7 separate regions of the Homo sapiens genome follow, and all the other regions are linked to region 1. The links are contacts of gene promoters, found by promoter capture Hi-C in blood cells and fetal thymus (Javierre and others, 2016). All regions are on one chromosome and are shown on one strand. The core of a region is centred on a gene start or on the middle of the fragment in contact, and the rest is flanking DNA. Distances in the headings are between cores, read along the strand shown. Region 1 holds the start of IREB2 (iron responsive element binding protein 2). Region 2 overlaps MORF4L1 (mortality factor 4 like 1). Region 3 has its middle 5.5 kb from the start of MORF4L1. Region 4 overlaps TBC1D2B (TBC1 domain family member 2B). Region 5 overlaps SH2D7 (SH2 domain containing 7). Region 6 has its middle 4.2 kb from the start of CIB2. Region 7 overlaps IDH3A (isocitrate dehydrogenase (NAD(+)) 3 catalytic subunit alpha).

The links. Contacts are between HindIII fragments. The CHiCAGO score rates a contact against its expected background, and 5 or more counts as called.
Region 2: a fragment that was not itself captured here is called in contact with the fragment with the promoter of IREB2 in region 1 in 4 of 17 cell types (naive CD8 T cells, erythroblasts, total CD8 T cells and 1 more); the score reaches 6.3 in naive CD8 T cells.
Region 3: a contact is called between a fragment that was not itself captured here and the fragment with the promoter of IREB2 in region 1, in 1 of 17 cell types (neutrophils). The highest score is 6.0, in neutrophils.
Region 4: a contact is called between a fragment that was not itself captured here and the fragment with the promoter of IREB2 in region 1, in 1 of 17 cell types (neutrophils). The highest score is 5.8, in neutrophils.
Region 5: a contact is called between a fragment that was not itself captured here and the fragment with the promoter of IREB2 in region 1, in 2 of 17 cell types (activated CD4 T cells and total CD4 T cells). The highest score is 5.5, in activated CD4 T cells.
Region 6: a contact is called between a fragment that was not itself captured here and the fragment with the promoter of IREB2 in region 1, in 2 of 17 cell types (naive CD8 T cells and non-activated CD4 T cells). The highest score is 5.7, in naive CD8 T cells.
Region 7: a contact is called between a fragment that was not itself captured here and the fragment with the promoter of IREB2 in region 1, in 2 of 17 cell types (total CD8 T cells and total CD4 T cells). The highest score is 6.9, in total CD8 T cells.

What each region holds. Positions count from the first base shown.
Region 1 is chr15:78,436,866-78,439,541 of GRCh38, forward strand. IREB2 (iron responsive element binding protein 2) reads left to right here and starts at 1,351. Exons shown (of 22, transcript NM_004136.4): 1 at 1,351-1,491. The coding sequence starts at 1,473. RefSeq lists enhancers at 886-965, 1,036-1,095 and a silencer at 1,566-1,805. The HindIII fragment of the contact is 13,990 bases long and covers 1-2,676 here.
Region 2 is chr15:78,890,093-78,892,768 of GRCh38, forward strand. It overlaps MORF4L1 (mortality factor 4 like 1), which reads left to right. Exons shown (of 12, transcript NM_006791.4): 6 at 897-922; 7 at 1,392-1,480; 8 at 2,120-2,221. Among named protein-coding and RNA genes, the nearest start is that of MORF4L1, 19 kb to the left of the region's middle. The HindIII fragment of the contact is 687 bases long and covers 1,010-1,696 here.
Region 3 is chr15:78,866,096-78,868,771 of GRCh38, forward strand. No RefSeq gene overlaps it. Among named protein-coding and RNA genes, the nearest start is that of MORF4L1, 5.5 kb to the right of the region's middle. The HindIII fragment of the contact is 7,287 bases long and covers 1-2,676 here.
Region 4 is chr15:78,007,558-78,010,233 of GRCh38, forward strand. TBC1D2B (TBC1 domain family member 2B) reads right to left here. Exons shown (of 13, transcript NM_144572.2): 10 at 1,440-1,557. Among named protein-coding and RNA genes, the nearest start is that of TBC1D2B, 69 kb to the right of the region's middle. The HindIII fragment of the contact is 2,998 bases long and covers 1-2,676 here.
Region 5 is chr15:78,095,486-78,098,161 of GRCh38, forward strand. It overlaps SH2D7 (SH2 domain containing 7), which reads left to right. Exons shown (of 6, transcript NM_001101404.2): 3 at 2,444-2,609. Among named protein-coding and RNA genes, the nearest start is that of SH2D7, 4.3 kb to the left of the region's middle. The HindIII fragment of the contact is 4,220 bases long and covers 1-2,676 here.
Region 6 is chr15:78,134,271-78,136,946 of GRCh38, forward strand. No RefSeq gene overlaps it. Among named protein-coding and RNA genes, the nearest start is that of CIB2, 4.2 kb to the left of the region's middle. The HindIII fragment of the contact is 4,331 bases long and covers 1-2,676 here.
Region 7 is chr15:78,154,954-78,157,629 of GRCh38, forward strand. It overlaps IDH3A (isocitrate dehydrogenase (NAD(+)) 3 catalytic subunit alpha), which reads left to right. Exons shown (of 11, transcript NM_005530.3): 2 at 260-322; 3 at 2,595-2,676. Among named protein-coding and RNA genes, the nearest start is that of IDH3A, 6.9 kb to the left of the region's middle. The HindIII fragment of the contact is 1,295 bases long and covers 673-1,967 here.

The sequences.
Region 1 (2,676 bases), core at 101-2,600:
GCTCAGGTCACAGGCAGACTGGGAAGCATCAACATATTAACTAATAACTGAAGTCAAAGGAAGTGTGAGATGGGCCAGGGAAAATGGACAGAGGGAGGAGGTACAAGGCCAGAGCCCTGGGACACATTTAATGTCCAATATATTTTTTTTTGAGACAGGGTCTTGCTGTGTTGCTCAGGCTGGAGTGCAGTGGTGCAATCATGGCTCACCACAGCCTCAATCTCCTGGGCCCAAGTGATCCTCCCACCTCAGCCTCCTGAGTAGCTGAGACTACAGGTGCATGCCACCACACTCAGCTAATTTTTAAATTTTTTTTGTAGAGATAGGGTCTCACTACGTTGCTGTGTTTGGTCTTGAACTTTTCAGCTCAAGCCATCCTCCCACTTTGGCCTCCTAAAGTGCTGGAATTACAGGCATGAGCTACTGTGCCCATCAAGTGCCCAGTACATTTAAAAGCTGGGCGGAGGAAGAGGTCTGCAGAGGAGCCTGAGATCAAGCACCCTTAGGAGAAGAAACAAAAGTAGAGTCTGAAGTCACAGAAGCTGATGGAAGAGTATTTTTCAACAATGGGAGAGAACCAGTCAAGATTGAGATATGTGAGATTAGAAAGTGGAGTTATAGCTGGCCTTGGCTAAAGGCATTTCTGGGAGTGGAAGCCAGACTGGAAGAGGATAAGAAGTGGGTGGGGGAGAGCCGAGTATGAGCGACTCTTTCTGGTAAGTTGCTGCGACAGGAGATAATGCTGGGTAGGTGGAGAACACAGGGACCGGAGGAGCTGAGGCGGAAGGATGGAGAGGCTTAAGCATGTGTTAACTGCCACTGGGAAGAAGTCGGCAATCACGGAAGCTACCGGAGGGTAAGAAAAAATTCATTCATTCAACAGTTGAGCGCCTCCCACGCGCCCGATCAGTATGGCCGCCCCCACTTGAAAACACGCGTGTGGGCCGCCCACGTCTGACAAGTTAATGCAAGGCTTTATAGTTAGGGGAAAGCGGTTCTCCTTGAGCTCTTTCTCCTAGCAGTTCCGATTCCGACCCTGACTCCAACAGACACCTTGCGGGAACGCAAACACCGCTCGAATTCATGACCCCAATAGAAAACTTAAGGCCGCAACTAAGTAACGGATCGCTGCGAAGGCCAAACTAGCCACGCCAACGCCCCCACTGGAGCCTCCCCAGCGCTCCGCCCCCGCTCGCGAGAACAGCGGCGACGGCGCGAGAAATCGCTTTCTGGTTAGCTCCGCCCCTTCCCTTTCTTTGTTTTCCTGTCCGACGATCTCGCGGGAGTTAGGCGACAAATCCCGCGAGCGCAGACCCGGGGCTGGCTCTGCTGCTCTCGCGATATTTGCGCGAGCCTGCTTCCTTCTTTCCTCCCTTGCCAGTCCGCCTGTCTTCCTCCCCGTCTTCCCTGCCCGGCCTCCCCCTTCTTCCCCCGCTGGCCCCCTCCCCGGAGGGATAATATGGTCTCCGGCGATGGACGCCCCAAAAGCAGGTCAGTTTCGGGCCTCCGAGCTGGGTCTGGCAGTTGGAAACGCGCGCTGCCTAGGCGCCGAATTCCTTGCTTTTCTCGCCTGGAGTCGCTCGGCAGGCGCCCAGGCCCTCGGGGCTCGGGTTGTGCTCCCCTCGGGGCCTGCCTGCTGGGCCGCCCTTTGAGCCTAGGCCGCGGAAGCTGGGGCTCCCGATCCCCACCCTCCTGCGCGACACCCGCAGGGCGGGCCACCCCACCGCTGGCCTTGACCCGCACCCCTCTCTCTCCGGTGGCCGCTGCCTGCTGCCAGCGGCTTCCTGGCCCCCGTCAGCAACACCAGGGGCAGGGAGAGGCCCACCGTCTTCTCCTGCCCGCCCCCCATTGGCGAGCGATGAAGGCGGGGGCCTGCGTCTCCGTGTTCGGGTCTCACGCAGCTAGATGTTGATTCCACGGTCCAGCCTAAGGCCCCTCAGTCTCTCTGTGCCTCTGGAAGCCGAATGAGGGGCAGTCAAGGTTGAACATTGGTCAGTCAGTTCTCCGACCATTTATTGCACCGCTGTCTCCTCCCCCGTCCACCTCCCTCTACAAAAAAAAAAAAAGAGAAAAAAATACTATTCATTCTGAAAATGGGCTGTGCTTATGTTTTCTCCTTTTGGATGAAAGCCTTAACAATGTTGAGGGTCCTGGCCACCCACCGCTATGAGTCTGCACAAAAGATCTGAAGGTTCTTTTCAACCTCAGGGCTGCCTCCCCGCCACTGCCCCCTAGAATGTTGGGAGCTGAGGCACGTTTAAATGAGACCTCTGGATCTTTGACTTAGTAGTTCAGCTTCAGTTCGTGCAAAACCAGAAGACTTGTCTCTTTCGGGTAGAATATGCTAATTTCCTAGAGATTCTGTTACTTTTATTTTCAGTACTAAGCCCTGGTAAGGACTTAACTGAGAAGTTTTTTTGTTTTGGTTTATTGAATGCTCTGTAAAAATCCGTCTTTTAGTTTTTTTTTTTAATCAGTCCCTCTAATGTTAATTGTGGAATTCACAAATTCCTGTCTCTGCAGTTTTCAAGACATGTCTTTCCAAAACGTCCCCGTGGATTATTTAAATCATTCTTATTGTCCCTTTCCAGGTATTCTTATCACATTTCAGGAGTGAATTATCTTACTAGTTTTTACTTGACAAATTATGGTTTAGAACTATGCTTTCCAGTGTGG
Region 2 (2,676 bases), core at 103-2,602, 450 kb after region 1:
GCCTATGGTCCCAGCTACTTGGAAGGCTGAGGCAGGAGAATCGCTTGAACCCGGGAGGAGGAGGTTGCAGTGAGCCGAGATCACCCAACAGACAGAGCAAGACTCCATCTCAAAATAAATAAATAAAGCAAAATTAGCAATTTACCATTTGACAGTATATAAGTGACGTGAGGTAAGTTGCTGTTAGAGATGATAATCAAGATGAGGAGACTTAAAACAAAAAAATTACACAAATCTAAAAATATTTTGGGGAACAAAAATAATTGGAAAAAAATTTTAACCTTTGACACCTTTTTTTTTTGGTGGGCCTAATAATGTAGTATATACTATAACATATATTAATATAACCCTGGAAGAACGAAGTTGTTTACTAAAGTGTTCTTGGTTTGCTTTTCTTTTTTTTTTGTCTTTGAGACAGGGTCTCTGTCACCAAGACTGGAGTGCAGTGGTGCAATCAAGGCTCACTGCAGCCTTGGCCTCCTGGGCTCAAGCAATCCTCTCACCTCAGCTTCCCAAGTAGCTGGGACTATAGGCGTTTGCCAGTATGCCCAGTTAATTTTTGTATTTTTTATAGAGAACAGGATTTGCCATGTTGCCCAGGCTGGTCTGGAATTTTGAGCTCTAGAGATCCACCCCCTCTTCACCTCCCAAAATGCTGGGATTACAGGCATGTGCCACTGCGCCTGGCTTGGTTTATTTTTTTCTATTATGTGGAGAGAGATGGGAATTTAACCAACTATCAATAAAAATCCTTGTGTCTGAGTAGGACACATATTTACCACCTGATCCTTTATCCAAGTTAGTATTTCTCTGTGAACTTAACCCTGATAAAGGGAGTTGAAACAGAGGCAGTTTTACTGGAAATAATTATTTTTCTTTTTTTTCTCTCCTTTTAGGAAAACGAAAAAGAACAAACAGAAAAGTAAGAATATTAACTTTCTTAACGTTAATTTATGTTACCTCTATGACATTGACGTTTTTATTTTGAAAGCTATGAAATTTTGGAGTAAGCTTATGTTTATTGATTATCTCAAATAGGAGTCTCACAGCAGTGTTATAAAATAGGTACATGGTGGTAGAGACCTCTTTTTGCCAAGGAGAAACTTGTGAGCATTTATTTTCATCTGCTTTAGTCTTAATGTCTCCCACTGAGAAGATAACATTTATAAATAAATGGAAGATGGTGATACTAAATGTTGTCTATACTAAATGTTCGGTAGAGCTCTTCATGAAAGTTGTATTTTTGGTAGGAATATGATTCTTTAACTTAGATTGAGGTAACAGCTGTGTAATGGAGAAATAATGAAAAGGGTTAATGTGTCAAGAGACTATTTTCCTTATAGAGTTTGTTAAATTAGCTAAATGAGACCCCTCCCCGCCAACATTTACAGCACCTGGAAATGGAGATGGTGGCAGTACCAGTGAGACCCCTCAGCCTCCTCGGAAGAAAAGGGCCCGGGTAGATCCTACTGTTGAAAATGTGAGTTTTTCTTGTGTTTATGAATAGCATGTTAGGATTTTTAGTCTCAGTTACATGACATAACCATGGGAGCTTTGATTATCTACAAGATTTGCTTACATGGTTAATACCTGAAATTAAAAATTTTCTCTTTTGGGGGTAAAGGATAAATTTCTGTATATCTTTATTTCACCTGTAGCTCCAGATTTACCTACCCAATTGATCATTTGTTGTGTAAGCTTCATGTTCACCTACAAGACTATTTCTTTGGTGTTACGTATTTATTTTTAGGAGTTAAAGATGTACCTTTAAGATGGTTGTGTTTGGAATAGTTTTGATATCCATGGTAAATAAGAAAATACTAAGTTAAAATGTATCAAGTCAGGGTGTTTCATTTCCTGAACAAGAGGAACCTTACTGAAGAATTTTTACCTTTACAAGAAAATGCACTAAATAGACTATAGTTCAGGTCAGATTCTTTTCTCCCAACAGCGAACCGCGTATGGTCGTTTTTATTAATGATTTTAAAAAATGACAGTACAGCTGTATGCTTGGCTACTTTAAGATTTATCCCTAGTGCCTCTAAAAGTCAGCTCCCCTCCATGTTTGGTATTTAGCAAGAAAGGTTAGGTTTTTAATACTCCTCCTGTTTCTGTTTAGGAGGAAACATTCATGAACAGAGTTGAAGTTAAAGTAAAGATTCCTGAAGAGCTAAAACCGTGGCTTGTTGATGACTGGGACTTAATTACCAGGCAAAAACAGGTAACTTGAAAAGCTACCCAGATTGTTAAGCTATATGATACATTCTTGCTAGCAAAAAAAGTTTTTAAAGGAAAATGTTATATTGACTTGAATTATTAAGGTATGACTGATAAAATAATATTTTAATTTAGAGGCTGAACACTTTAGAACTACTACCAGAAAGAGTAAGTTAGAAGAATAAAAGTTCACATATAAATTTTATGAGGTTATAATGATAAAGGTGGAAATAACTCATTTTTGGAGATTGCTAGGGCAGGAACTCGTTCTGAAAATTCATAAAGGTGAAGAAGCATATGTCTTACTGTCATTGCTAATGGTAGGCCATAGAAAGCACACACCACCACCTGCAAGGTATTCATGACCCTGAAAAGAACCTGAATCTTACTAAGCGCCTGGATCTATTGTTAGTTTGCAGGAAATAGGATGTTTAATGGAGTGACATGTTTGTCAATCGT
Region 3 (2,676 bases), core at 72-2,571, 430 kb after region 1:
CTTCATGGACCCTTTGAATTGTATCCACAGACTCCTAACTTAAGAACTTCTGCTCTACGTTTAAAAAGACAAGAGATTTGGCCAGGCACGGTGGCTCGTGCCTGTAATTCCAGCACTTTGGGAGGCTGGGGGAGGTGGATCACTTGAGGTCAGGAGTTTAAGACCAGCCTGGCCAACGTGGTGAAATCCCGCCTCTACTAAAAATACAAAAATTAGCTGGGCGTGGTGGTGTGTGTCTGTAATCCCAGCTACTCTGAGGCAGAATGGCTTGAACCCAGGAGGCGGAGGTTACAGTGAGCCGAGATTTGAGACTCTGTCTCAAAAAAAAAACAGAACAAACAAACAAAAAAACAAGAGATTGCTCAGTTCTGGGGCATAATTAAAAAAAAAAAAAGAGATTGTAGCCAGGAGTGGTGACTCACACCTGTGACCCCAGCACTTTGGGAGGCTGAGGCGGGCAGATCACCTGAGGTCGGGAGTTCGAGACCAGCCTGACCAACATGGAGAAATCCCATCTCTACTAAAAATACAAAAATTAGCCAGGCATAGTGGCGCATGCCTGTAATCTCAGCTACTCAGGAGGCTGAGGCAGGAGAATTGCTTGAACCCGGGAGGCGAAGGTTGCAGTGAGCCGAGATTGTGCCATTGCACTCCAGCTTGGGTAACAAGAGTGAAGCTCCGTCTCAAAAAAAAAAAAAATTTAACAATCAAATGTAATACATTGTTATTTAATAGGTCTTGTTTTGAAAAAAGGAGGACACAAACAAGCGAGGAAATCTGGAGTGAGTACTGCATAATTTTAGGAAACTATTGTTATTCCCTATTGACATAGGTTTCTAATAGCAACAACTTGAAAGCAGACTGCATGTTATTGTGCTGGATGTGATATGGTATTGTGGCATGTAGAGAATGCTTATTTTGGAAGTACATACTAAAGAAACCAGGTGTGAATGGTTATTATGTGTTTACACACACACACACCCCACATAAATATGTCAATATAAGGCACATCCGGGGAAATGTTCACAGTTGTTTAACGGAGGTGATAAAAAATGTCTTTTTCTTCTTCTTCTTTTTTTTTTTCCTGAGATGGAGTCTTGCTCCGCCGCCCAGGCTGGAGTGCAGTGGCACAATCTCGGCTCACTGCAACCTCTGCCTCCCGGGTTCAAATGATTCTCCTGCCTCAGACTCCTGAGTAGCTGGGACTACAGGCATGTGCCACAGCGCCCGGCTAATTTTTATATTTTTAGTAGAGACGGGGTTTCACCATGTTGGCCAGGCTGGTCTCAAACTCTTGACCTTGTGACCCACCTGCCTTGGCCTCCCAAAGTGTTGGGATTACAGGCGTGAGCCACTGCACCTGGCTAAAATGTATTATTCTTTCTACTTTTCTGTATGTTTGAACTTTTCATAATAAAATCTTTAAAAAGCGACTTTAAAAATATTTTTATTGAGGTATAATGTAGGTTTGTTAAGGTGCATTACTAGTAAGTGTACAGCTTGATGAATTTTTACATGTGTAAAACATGTAACACCATCTAACCACACCAGATTAAGATACAGAACATTTCTGTCACTGTTCTGTAGTTTCCTAGTGCCCATAATTTCTAACACTATTGATAAAGTATATACTCTTTCATGTCTGGTTTCTTTTGTACAACACGAGTTCCTGTTATATTAAAGCCAGTTTTCATGCAGGGCACAGTGGCTCACACCTGTAATCCTGGCACTTTTGGAGGCTGAGGCAGGTGGATGGCCTGAGCTCAGGAGTTCAAGACCAGCCTGGGCAACACGGTGAAACCCCGTCTCTACTAAAATACAAAATGTTAGCTGGGCATGGCAGCGTGCACTTGTAATCCTAGCTACTCGGGAGGCTGAGATAGCAGAATCGCTTGAACCCGGGAGGTGGAGTTTGCAGTGAGCCGAGATCATGCCATTACACTCCAGCCTGGGTGACAGAGCGAGGCTCCACGTCAAAACAAAAACAGGCTGGGCGCAGTGGCTCACGCCTGTAATCCCAGCACTTTGGGAGGCCGAGGCGGGTGGATCATGAGGTCATGAGTTCAAGACCAGCCTGGCCAAGATGGTGAAACCCTGTCTCTACTAAAACTACAAATATTAGCTGGGCATGGTAGCAGGTGCCTGTAATCCCAGCTACTTGGGAGGCTGAGGCAGGAGAATCGCTTGAACCCGGGTGGCGGAGGTTGCGGTGAGCCAAGATCGTGCCACTGCACTCCAGCCTGGGCGACAGGGTGAGACTCCATCTCAAAAAAAACAAACACCAGTTTTCAGAGACTCCATGATGCCATGTTTGTCAAGAATGTGGAAAAACAAGCCTTTTCTTAAATTGCTAGTTGAAATGTAAAATGATGAAACCTTTCACAAGGCAATTTAAAATGCCCACATTCTTTGACCTAGTAATTCTACTTCTTGGGTCCTGAAAAAATAAAAGCAAAGTGCAGAAGGCAGGCATGGTGGCGTGATCTGTATTCCCAGCTACTCTGGAAGCTGAGGCGTGAGGATTGCTTGAGCCTAGGATTCCAGGCTGGACACTCTAGCCAGGACAACATAGCCTGGCTGTGTTGACACGCTACCCTGGACAACATAGTGAGACCCTGTCTCTTAAAAAAAAAAAAGAAAAGAAAAAGCAATGTGCACAAAGATTAGATAAATCTT
Region 4 (2,676 bases), core at 106-2,605, 430 kb before region 1:
CCCTCCCTCCAAAGGCAGAAATGCGAATGCAAAGAACACTTGCTCAGGGTCCAGCCAGGAAAACAGAAATCCCTCTAAATATGTGTCACAGAGTGAATGTCATCCAGGGGCTGGCCACACTGGTGAGAGAAAAGCTGAGAAGCCAAACAGCTGACAGTGAGGCAGCCCAGAGTTATAGCAAGGGCAGAAAGCCACCCTGCAGGGGAGCAATGAAGGGAGCCGGTGGGGTCAGCTGTTGGCACAGAGGACCCACCGGACAGGAGCTGGGCACAGAGGAGACAAAGCCACCTTCAGAGGCAGTGCCCGAGATGGGGAGAGGGAAAACCCCTTCAGTCCCTCCTGTCACCCTTCAGTCTCCTGCCAGCACCTCCCGCTGGCCTGCAGGGCCAGGCCTTGCAACACCAAGTGGTGCAGGAGAAGGGCAAGGAGAGGCTGTGAGCAGGCAGGCCAGGCGGGGGCACAGACCTGGAGAAGAGACACGAGACAGGGCAGGCACACACGGGGACAGCTGTGGCTAAGAGAGAAGCTGCCTGAGTCTGGGCCACATGCGAAGGGCCGGCTTACGGGGAAGCCAGTGCTGGCAGCAGCCCCAGCCCAGCCTAGGGATGATTCAAGGGCCAAGGATCTGGTCCAGGGCCAGGACTGTCCCAAGCAAAGGCAGAAACACTGGGCTCTCCCAGCCCTTATCACTCTGCCCTGGCCCCTGGCGTCAGACTCCAGGTGTGGATGGCATGAAATGCGCCACTCAGACTCCCACTGCAGGAGGTGACTGCAGGCCCCACTGCTGCCCCTCTGGTGCATCACCACGTTCATTCCCAGCAGCAGGGCATGGGTGCGGCAGCGGCAGGAATGCAGCCCATCTGTGGAGGCAGGTGCCTTGGTCACTGCCCTTGGCTTGAGGGCTCCCCACTGGCCCTGCCCAGACTTCCTCAGGACTGCATGGTGGTCACTGCACAGGGTCTGGGACTCTCCTCCCCATCCTCCTCCCTTCCTGGGGCTGGAACTTCTCTGTCCCTTGTCCTCCACAGGGGCTTCCCCCCGCCGAAGTCTCTGGTTTGTCTCATTCCAGCCTGACATTGCTTCTTGAGAGCCTGAGCTAACACACCAGTCACCCAAGCACACCTGGATTATGACTCAGCCCACTGGTAGGCCTGTGTCCGGGGAAGACAGTGCAGAGCAGTGAACACAATGTTAGGCCTGCAGGACGGGTCTGTCTCTGCTGGTTCGCAGGGGGCTGAATGAGCCCAACTCGGCCTCAGTCACAAACAGCAGGCCATGACTGGGGACAGCCTCTGAGATGTGGCCTGCTGTCTTCAGGAATCAGTCTCTGAAGTCACATACACAAAGCAACCCCTCACCCTGACCGCAGGTTTAATTCAGGTCACATTTCAGCTGCAATTCTAAAAGTGGTGACTAAAACACAGAATTTTCAGAACTACCTGGGATCCTAAAAGAGTCTTTGTATAATAGTCTCGAGGCATGAAAACTTCCACTATGGTAACGAGACACCAGAAAGCATCTTCTTGTTCCAGGTACAGGAGGGCCACTGCCACCAACCTACAAGCAAAGGGAGGACAAGATGAGAGCCCAGGCACAGACAGCTGCTACTACAGTCTCCACAGAGACCATCTGCTTTAAGCCACTTTTTCTCTCATGGCCAAAATTATTTCTAGTTCTCCAATAAAGAATAATAAGGACCTGGCTTAATGGCTCACGCCTATTATACTAGCACTCTGGGAGGCCAAGACAGGAAGATCACTTGAGGCTAGGAGTTTAAGACCAGCCTGGGCAACATAGCAAGACTCCATCTCTAAAAAAACAAAAAACCAAAAATCAGCCAGGAGTAGCGACGCACACCTGTAGTCCTAGCTACCCAGTAGGCTGAGGCAGGAGGATCACTTGAGCCCAGGAGGTGGAGGCTACAGTGAATGATAATCGCACTACTGCACTCCAGCCTGTGCAACAGAACAAGACCTTGTCTCATTAAAAAAAAAAAAGGAGGGGGTGCATTTCCTAAAATTTGAGAAGCAAAGCTACTTTTCCCCACTTTCATTTGGTTTTTGTTCAAAGATGAAATTGTTTCCCAATGATCAGCCAGCCTCATTAAAAAAAAGTTTTCATTATAAGATTTTTGCGGCTGGGCGCAATGGCTCACGCCTGTAATCCCAGCACTTTGGGAGGCCGAGGCGGGCAGATCACGAGGTCAGGAGATTGAGACCATCCTGGCTGACACGGTGAAACCCTGTCTCTACTAAAGATACAAAAAAATTAGCCAGGCGCGGTGGCGGGCGCCTGTAGTCCAAGCTACCTGGGAGGCTGAGGCAGGAGAATGGCGTGAACCCGGGAGGCAGAGCTTGCAGTGAGCCGAGATAGCTCCACTGCACTCCGGCCTGGGCGAGAGAGCCAGACTCCGTCTCAAAAAAAAAAAAAAAAAAAGATTTTTGCAAATGCAGCTGATTCTTTGAGTTCATCAAGAAGTTCCAAATAACCCTTTTATGCACAAAAATTCCAGATGTGAATGTAAGTAACAAAGAATACAGAATGGTTTAAAACAGCTTTCCCAACACCATCCTGCTTCCAGGCTGAAGGAATAAAATGGGCTGCAGATGAGGGCACCCCAAAGGAGCTAACAGCGCTGTGCCCACTGCATGCACAGCAGGGGAAGAGGACCATGTG
Region 5 (2,676 bases), core at 47-2,546, 340 kb before region 1:
TCCCAAATGTTTGGTTACCAGATTTACAACAGAGGCATCACTGCAATTCCGTGGGGGAAAGGCTTGTTTTTTCAATAATTGGTGCAGGAGCAATTGGATATCTAAATGGAAAACAATTACTGCTACCTCATACCATACATGAAAATTAATTAATTCTAGATGGATCGTAGATCCAAGAAAGAAAAGCAAAACAATACCATTTCTAGAAGAAAACAGGAAAACATTGTCATAGGTAAATGAAAATGCCTTTGAAAATGAGAGGCCAAGTTTTTTTAAACAGGACACAAAAAGCGCTAATCTTAAAAGAGTGATTAACTTGATTTCCTTAAAATTAAGAATTTTTTAAAATTTATTTATTTATTTATTTATTTTTTGGAGACAGAGTCTCGCTCTCTCGCTCTGGCTGGAGTGCAGTGGCGCGATCTCTGCTCACTGCCACCTTTGCCTCCCGGGTTCAAGCAATTCTCCTGTCTCAGCCTCCCAACTAGCTGGGACTACAGGCACACGCCACCACACCCAGCTAATTTTTGTATTTTTAGTAGAGATGGGGTTTCACCATATTGGTCAGGCTGGTCTCAATCTCCTGACCTTGGGTGATCCACCTGCCTCAGCCTCCCAAAGTGCTGGGATTACAGGCGTGAGCCACTGCACCTAGCCAAAATTAAGAATTTTTATAATTCTTATAAAGAGATATTATTAAGAGAAGAAAAAGGTCAGGGTGCAGTCTTGAAGAAGTTATCTATTAGAATACAAATATCTAACAAAGGACTCAAATCCAGAATATATAAAGAACTCCTACAAATAAATAAGCAAAAATAGATAATTCAATAAGTAAAAGCAAAAGAACTGAGCAGGCACTTTACCAAAAAGAAAAACCCAGAAGGCCCATAAGCATATGAAAACATGTTCAGCATCATTAGCTATCAGGGAAACACAAATTAAAGCCACAATGGATGGCTATAATGGAAAGACAGAATATGTGGAACAACTGGAGCTCTCATACATTGCAATAATTTTATTTTATTTTTGAGATGGAGTTTCACTCTTGTCACCTAGCTGGAGTGCAATGGCACAATCTCAGCCCACTGCAACCTCCGCCTCCAGGGTTCAAGCAATTTTCCTACCTCAGCCTCCAGAGTAGCTGGGATTACAGGCAACCACCACGACACCGGCTATTTTTTTTTTTTTAATTTTTAGTAGAGATGGGGTTTCACTATATTGATCAAGCTGGTCTTGAACTCCTGACCTCAAGTGATTTGCCTGCCTCGGCCCCTCAAAGTGCTGGGATTACAGGCATGAGCCACTGCACCTGGCGCATTGCAATAATTTTAGAAAGCAATTTGGCATGATTTACTAAAGCCAAACACGGGTGTACCCTTGACCCATCAACTCTACTCCTTGGTATATTCACATCAGAAATGAGTACATATTCACCAAAAGATATGCACAAGAATGCTCACAGCAGCTTTATTTATAACAGCCCAAATCCGGAAACTACCTAAATGTCTATCATCAGAATAGGTACATGGTGGATTTTTCATTAACTAGAATACTACATATAAATGAGAAAAAAAAGAAACTAATTCTACTTGGACATGAATCAATCTCCAAGATATAATGTTGAGTGAAATGTGCTAGACACAAAAGAGAAGTATTATAGAAGTTCTCTAATGGGCAAGACTAATCTATGCTGATAGGCGTCGGAATGGTGGCTACCTTTAGGGGGCATTGACTGGATGGGAGCGCAAGTAGGTCTTCTGGGGGCTGGAAGGGTTTTGTATCTTGACCTGAGTGGCAGTTACATGGGAGGGTTCCTATATGGAAATTCATCAAGCTGCACATTTATAATGTACACACATCACTGTGTAGAGGTTATTCTTCTAGGAAAAAGGGAGATGAAGAGGGTAGGATTTTAGGGTGGGACTTTACAGGCCGAAGAGGGGGTGGGAGCTGGAACTCCATCATTGCAGCAGGGTGGGGAGTAGGGTGAGGTTGAGTTGTACAGGTGCAGGGTTGGATCCTGTCTTTATTTAAAACTTTGGTGTTTTGTTCATTGTGGATTTTTTTCATATATTTTGATTTTCTAAAATACTGCGTTATTAGTTTTCTTTATTGAGTTTTTTGGTGCCCCTTTAAATTTCGCACCTAAGATGAGTGCCTCACTTGCCTCACTCCAGTCACAGCCGTGCTCTCCCTGACTCCACCAGAGCAGGCTTAGGTACTTCCCAGGATCCCAGGGCTCCACGGTTTGAAAACCTCTCCGTAGCTTCCTGATGAACACACCATGGCTCCAAGTGGGGTACAGTGGCCCCAGGTCAGGCAGGTCTGTTCTGGATCAAGAGCTGGGACCCCTCACCTGCACCCAGGCACAGAGCTCAGACCCTGGGCCAAGGCTGGGCTGCCTGTGACCAGCAGCCCCAGACCACAAGCACTTGTGTTGCAGGGGCAGTGATCGCTGCCGACATTTTGTCATCAACCAGCTTCGAAACCGGCGTTACATCATCTCAGGAGACACCCAGAGCCACAGCACCCTGGCTGAGCTTGTGCACCATTACCAGGAGGCACAGCTCGAGCCCTTCAAAGAGATGCTGACTGCTGCCTGCCCCCGGGTAGGCGCCCCACTTCCCCAGGGTGAGGGTGGCAGGGCAGAGAGCCCAGGCCTGGGGTATCCATCAC
Region 6 (2,676 bases), core at 116-2,615, 300 kb before region 1:
TCAGGAGTTTGAGACCAGCCTGGTCAACATGGCGAAACCCTGTCTCTGCTAAAAATACAAAAAATTGGCCTGGCGTGGTGGCGTGCCTGTAGTCCCAGCTACTCAGGAGGCTGAGGCAGGAGGATCACTTGAACCCGAGAGGCAGAGGTTGCTGTGAGCCAAGATCGTGCCATTGCACTCCAGCCGGGGCGACAAGAGCGAAACTCCATCTCAAAAAAAAAAAAAAATCTTTTTGGATCATTATTACCATGGCCTATCTGAAGCTCTCTCTCTTGAGCAATGCTGTGAGGAGGGGCAAGGAACACAATTCCCATGTTACAGATAAGAAACCTGGGGCTCAGAGAGGCCAAATGACTTGCCTGATGCCCCCCAGCTGGGAAGTGGCAAAGCAAAGCTCTAACGTCGTTCTCTGATTCCAAATCCTGTGCTTTAGCTGCTCCCTGATGTTGAGTGTGGTCCCTGAGGAGCAGAGTGTGTGTGTTTGCTGGGAGGGAGGATGGGCCGAGGGAGAAGAATAAAACATTACTGATTACTTATCTAGTGCCCAGAATTGTACTGGATGTGCTATATTTACTGAATTTGATTATTCCACAATAGCCTCCTCAGTCTGTGGAGTTTCATATTATTATCCCATTTCACAGGTGAAGAAATAGTTTCAGAGAAGGTGACTTGCCCAAGGTCACATAGCTGGTAACAGGTAGATTTAAATCTGGGCCCTGACTCTTTTCTTTTCTTTTTTCTTTTTTTTTTTTTTTTTTTTTGAGACAGTCTTACTCTGTCGCCCAGGGGCATGATCTCAGCTCACTGCAACCTCTGCCTCCCGGGTTTAAGTGATTCTTCTGCCTCAGCCTCCTGAGTAGCTGGGACTACAGGTGGGAGCCACCACACCCAGCTAATTTTTGTATTTTTAATAGAGACGGTGTTTCACCATGTTGGCCAGGCTGGTCTCGAACTCCTGACCTCCTCAGCCTCCCAAAGTTGGGATTACAGGCATGAGCCACCGTGCCCTGCCGGACTCTTCTCTTGATCACACAGTCTAGGACAGGGAAACGTGGTTACCAGTGTTTAAAGGGGGCTGACTCCTTGTCAATTGCAGTCTTGTAAATAATGTAAAAGGAAAAGGCAGCAGGGGTGCCAGATACTCATTAAATGTTAGCTTATTTTTTTTCATTTCTGATTCACACAATGAAGTTTATTTTAAAATTTGGAAGGAAAACAGGAATAAATGCTACCAAGTGCTTCTTTGGGATGAGAGGTCATCTTGACCTGCTGCCCAAGTGCTCGTTTGTGATGATGATGCACTTTGTGATCAAGATGACCTCTCATCCCAGAGAAGCCTTGTAGCATTTACTGCAGAACAACTCAATCTGCAAGTTGTTCTTCTAAGACTTAGAATCTAGATAGATCTTTTTGTTTGTTTGTTTTTGTTTTGTTTTGTTTTTTTGAGACGGAGTCTCGCTCTGTCGCCCAGGCTGGAGTGCAGTGGCGCGATCTTGGCTCACTGCAAGCTCCGCCTCCTGGGTTCCTGCCATTCTCCTGCCTCAGCCTCTTAAGTAGCTGGGACTGCAGGCGCCTGCCACCATGCCCAGCTATTTTTTTGTATTTTTAGTAGAGACGGGGTTTCACTGTGTTAGCCAGGATGGTCTTGATCTCCTGACCCTGTGATCCGCCCGTCTCAGCCTGAATCTAGGTAGATCTTAATGACAGAGATGGAAGATCCCTGGGCCCAAGGTCTGGGTGGGACCATCTCTTAAAGTAAACGAAGCCTGCAGCCTGTCTTCTAGCAGCTCTGTGGGCCCTGTGAGTCATTCCCCAGTCCTCCACTCAAATCCTTTACTATCCCACCTCTACTTTTTATCAGCTCAGGACCCCACCTGCTATCTTGGCTCATGGGAATCTTCTCTATCTTAGGGGCAATTCAAATCTTACTCTTATCTTTACCTATAAAGCATTGTCATCTTGGCGTCTTCCCTGACATGGCTGTGATTTATAGTGTGTGAGCAGTTACTAGGTCTGCCTCAGTCTCTCTCTCTTTCTCTCTCTCTCCCTCTCTCTCTCACACACACATACCCTGCAACCCCTTGTTTAACCTGGCCTATATCCTAGCACTGAACAGCTTGTCTCTGTTTCTCTAGCATTTTGCACATAGTAGGTTCTTAATGAGTATTTGGTGGATAAATAAATACACACCCTGGGACTGTTTTTTTTTTTGTCCTGAGGAGGGTTATTTTTCCCTCTCAAACACTAAGAAACAGGAGGGCTGGGACCAGGGCTGGGACCACATGTTCGTCTGTATCCCCAGACACAGAGGAATCTCCCAGGGTCTAGCACATGGTCTTAGCAAATGTAAAATCAACACCCTTTAAAAGAGTACATTTTCCTGGACCTGTTCATACATTTAATCAACTAGATCCCCAAATATTCTGACTTGAAAAAGATTTTCTTACTGGAGGATTTAGTGACCAGTCGTTTAGCGCAGAGCCAACAGAATGAAACCCCTTTCTCTCTTCCGGGAGACTGACCTGCCCTAGAGCCTTCCCCAGAAGCTACTCTGGATGTGAGAAGTTACTGGATGGCTCAAATGGGACCCCAGCTGGATGGCGACTGTCCTGTTGTTGAGGGAGGAGGGGGTCAATTTCCTCCACAAATCTGCTTCTTCTGGATCGTGTCCCACCC
Region 7 (2,676 bases), core at 70-2,569, 280 kb before region 1:
TTATTTGACAACTTATATTCGTTAAATTGACTTTGAAAATATACAGTACTCAATCTAAAGTAAAAATCTGAGTATTTAGGCTTTCAAATCTGAGATAGCTTGCCACATTGAGCTAATACATGAGATTTGTATTCCTGGGAAGCTACTGAATATATCTGTGCCAAGTTGCAGCATTACCATCCATCAGGACTTCCTCGCTCTTGTTTACTGTATGTGGTTTAATTCTGTGTGTGATATTTCTCTGTTGATATTAATATAGGTCTCTCGGCTGCTGGGGGCATTCCACAACCCAAAACAGGTGACCAGAGGTTTTACTGGTGGTGTGAGTATAATTATGTCTTTTATTTTTTCCTTTTAGAAGTTTCTCAAGAAAGATGCTCTAACATATTTATTATATAGCATTTTATCTCCATTCATTTAGAATTTGGGAAAATTGGCCATATTTATAATGTATGTTGAAATTACTGGCTGACATGCACAAATCTGTTAGGTTACTTGCGCATTTGAAAGAATTATCTTACAGCTGGCTATGTAAGTTTGTCACATTAATATCTTGAGGGAGCCTTGTTAAAAATAGAAAGTACCCTTGAGCCTGTTATTTTATTTCACAATCTCATTTTGGTGAGACAGCTTTTTTCAAAACTAGTACAAGTTGAGAGAAAATTGTTGAGAAGCTTCAAAACCTGCTTTGCATTTTTATTTTATGGGCTTCCCTAAACCCAGTAGATTGAGTGCCAATTAGGAATGCCTCGAACATCTATAAGCCTTGTAGGCTTATACTTGCCTTATATAGGCTTTGTAGACTATCACAGTAGTAGATCATCTATTGTTCATTAAATCTGCTGCTTTTAGAATTCCCAGCATCAGAATTCTGTGCTTTAAAAGCTGATACCACATTTTTGGAACATTCTAAGACTGTGGGTCAGTGACTTCCTATTTGTTTTGATCCCCGCCCCGCCTTTTATGGAATCTGATTTGGATTTCATAATTCCTATACTCCCATATAACATCTATGCCGTGAAAGATTTATAAGACCATAGTACATTTTTTCCTCCATTTACTTTCTGTATTGTGGAAGAAAAGCAGATTTTCTGGTGACTGGATGACATTTATTATTACATGTTGGGAGAACAGGAAGAAGTAGCCAAAGCGTTCTTTTGGCTCTGCTTATGCCAAAAATGCAGGATGGGGCTTGCACTTCAAGCTCAAGGATAGCCATGCTAGCATTTCAAACGCATTCTGAAAGCTAATAAGATGATCATTGCTCTCTGCTATTATTTAATTTTCAGGCTATTTATTTGAAAAAAAAATTAGCTTGATGGAGGAGGTTATTTTTGAAGAAATAAGAGGATGTATTAATTTTTTTAAAGACTTCTTCAACCCGAGAAAACTGGTATGAGCCTTAGCCCTGGCTAAGACTGAGGTGGGAGATTTGCTTAAGGCCAGGAGTTCGAGGCTGCAGTGAGCTGTGATCACACCTGTGAGTAGCCACTGTGCTCCTGCCTGGCAATGTAGTGAGTCCTCATCTCTAAAAAATAAAAATTGAAAATTAGAAAAATGAAAAAAATAAAAATGTTTCTTCAGTTGTACAGAAACTAATCAGAAATAATTAGTCCACGTATCTGGGCAGACATCATTGGAAGGCAAAGGACCAAGGAAACTTGAATTAGTGACTTTTTAAAAATGCAGTTCAAGCAACTAGAACTGAAAAAAAGCCAAGCCCCTAGGTGGGGTAAAGTCCCAAGATAATAAAATATGTGGTTCCCAAATGGAAAAAGAGGTGCTGATCTTCTCCCTTACATATTTTTATTTCTGCATTTGAAATGCTGGCTTCGTTTTGCCTGAAGCCTTAGAATAAATCATTGCTGTTACATTATAAAAACAATAATTGTCATTCTAAGTGTGACTCAGGCTTTGCAGGTATGATGACATATACTATTCTTTTTGGTTGCAGATCAACTTTGCCAAGCTTATGTAGATTACTCTTAGATTTAAGCAGACAGTTTTATAGAGGAACTAAGAAAAAAATGGAAGCTCTCTTGATAAAAAGTCTGATTTTCCCTGAGTACCAAAACAGACCTCAGTAATATTTTGGAAATGTGTCTGAAAATGTTTTGCAAGACTGAAGAAGTTGCATGAGAAGCTTTCCAGGATCACAATGGAAAGGAAAGGAAAACACTTGCCTTCATGAGAAACCGTCTAAATTTTAGTGAGAGAACATTGTTAATTTTTTGTTGTTGTTGTCTTTGGTTTAAAAGATTTGAATTAATTGGTCTCTTTGCAGCTTGTCTGAAAAGAAATATCAATTAGGAAATCTACTTGGTAGTTTAATTTATTTTCGTTTTATGTAAAGAGTATCATTTGGTTCTTTTTAAAACCTCTGAACTCAGGTAAAGAGTAGGATTGCAGAGTCTCTCCTCTGTTGATTCCTGCCTCCCCTTTGATGACCCCCGGGGAGGTATGTTTGTTTTCTTAACAGCATTTGAATCTTCCTGAGACATCTCATAAAGTGGATTTCTCTGTCAAAATATTCTTTTTTAAGCCTTCAAAAACAAAAATTCTTACTGTCTTCTTTGATGATTTCTTATGTTCAGGTTCAGACAGTAACTTTAATTCCAGGAGATGGTATTGGCCCAGAAATTTCAGCTGCAGTTATGAAGATTTTTGATGCTGCCA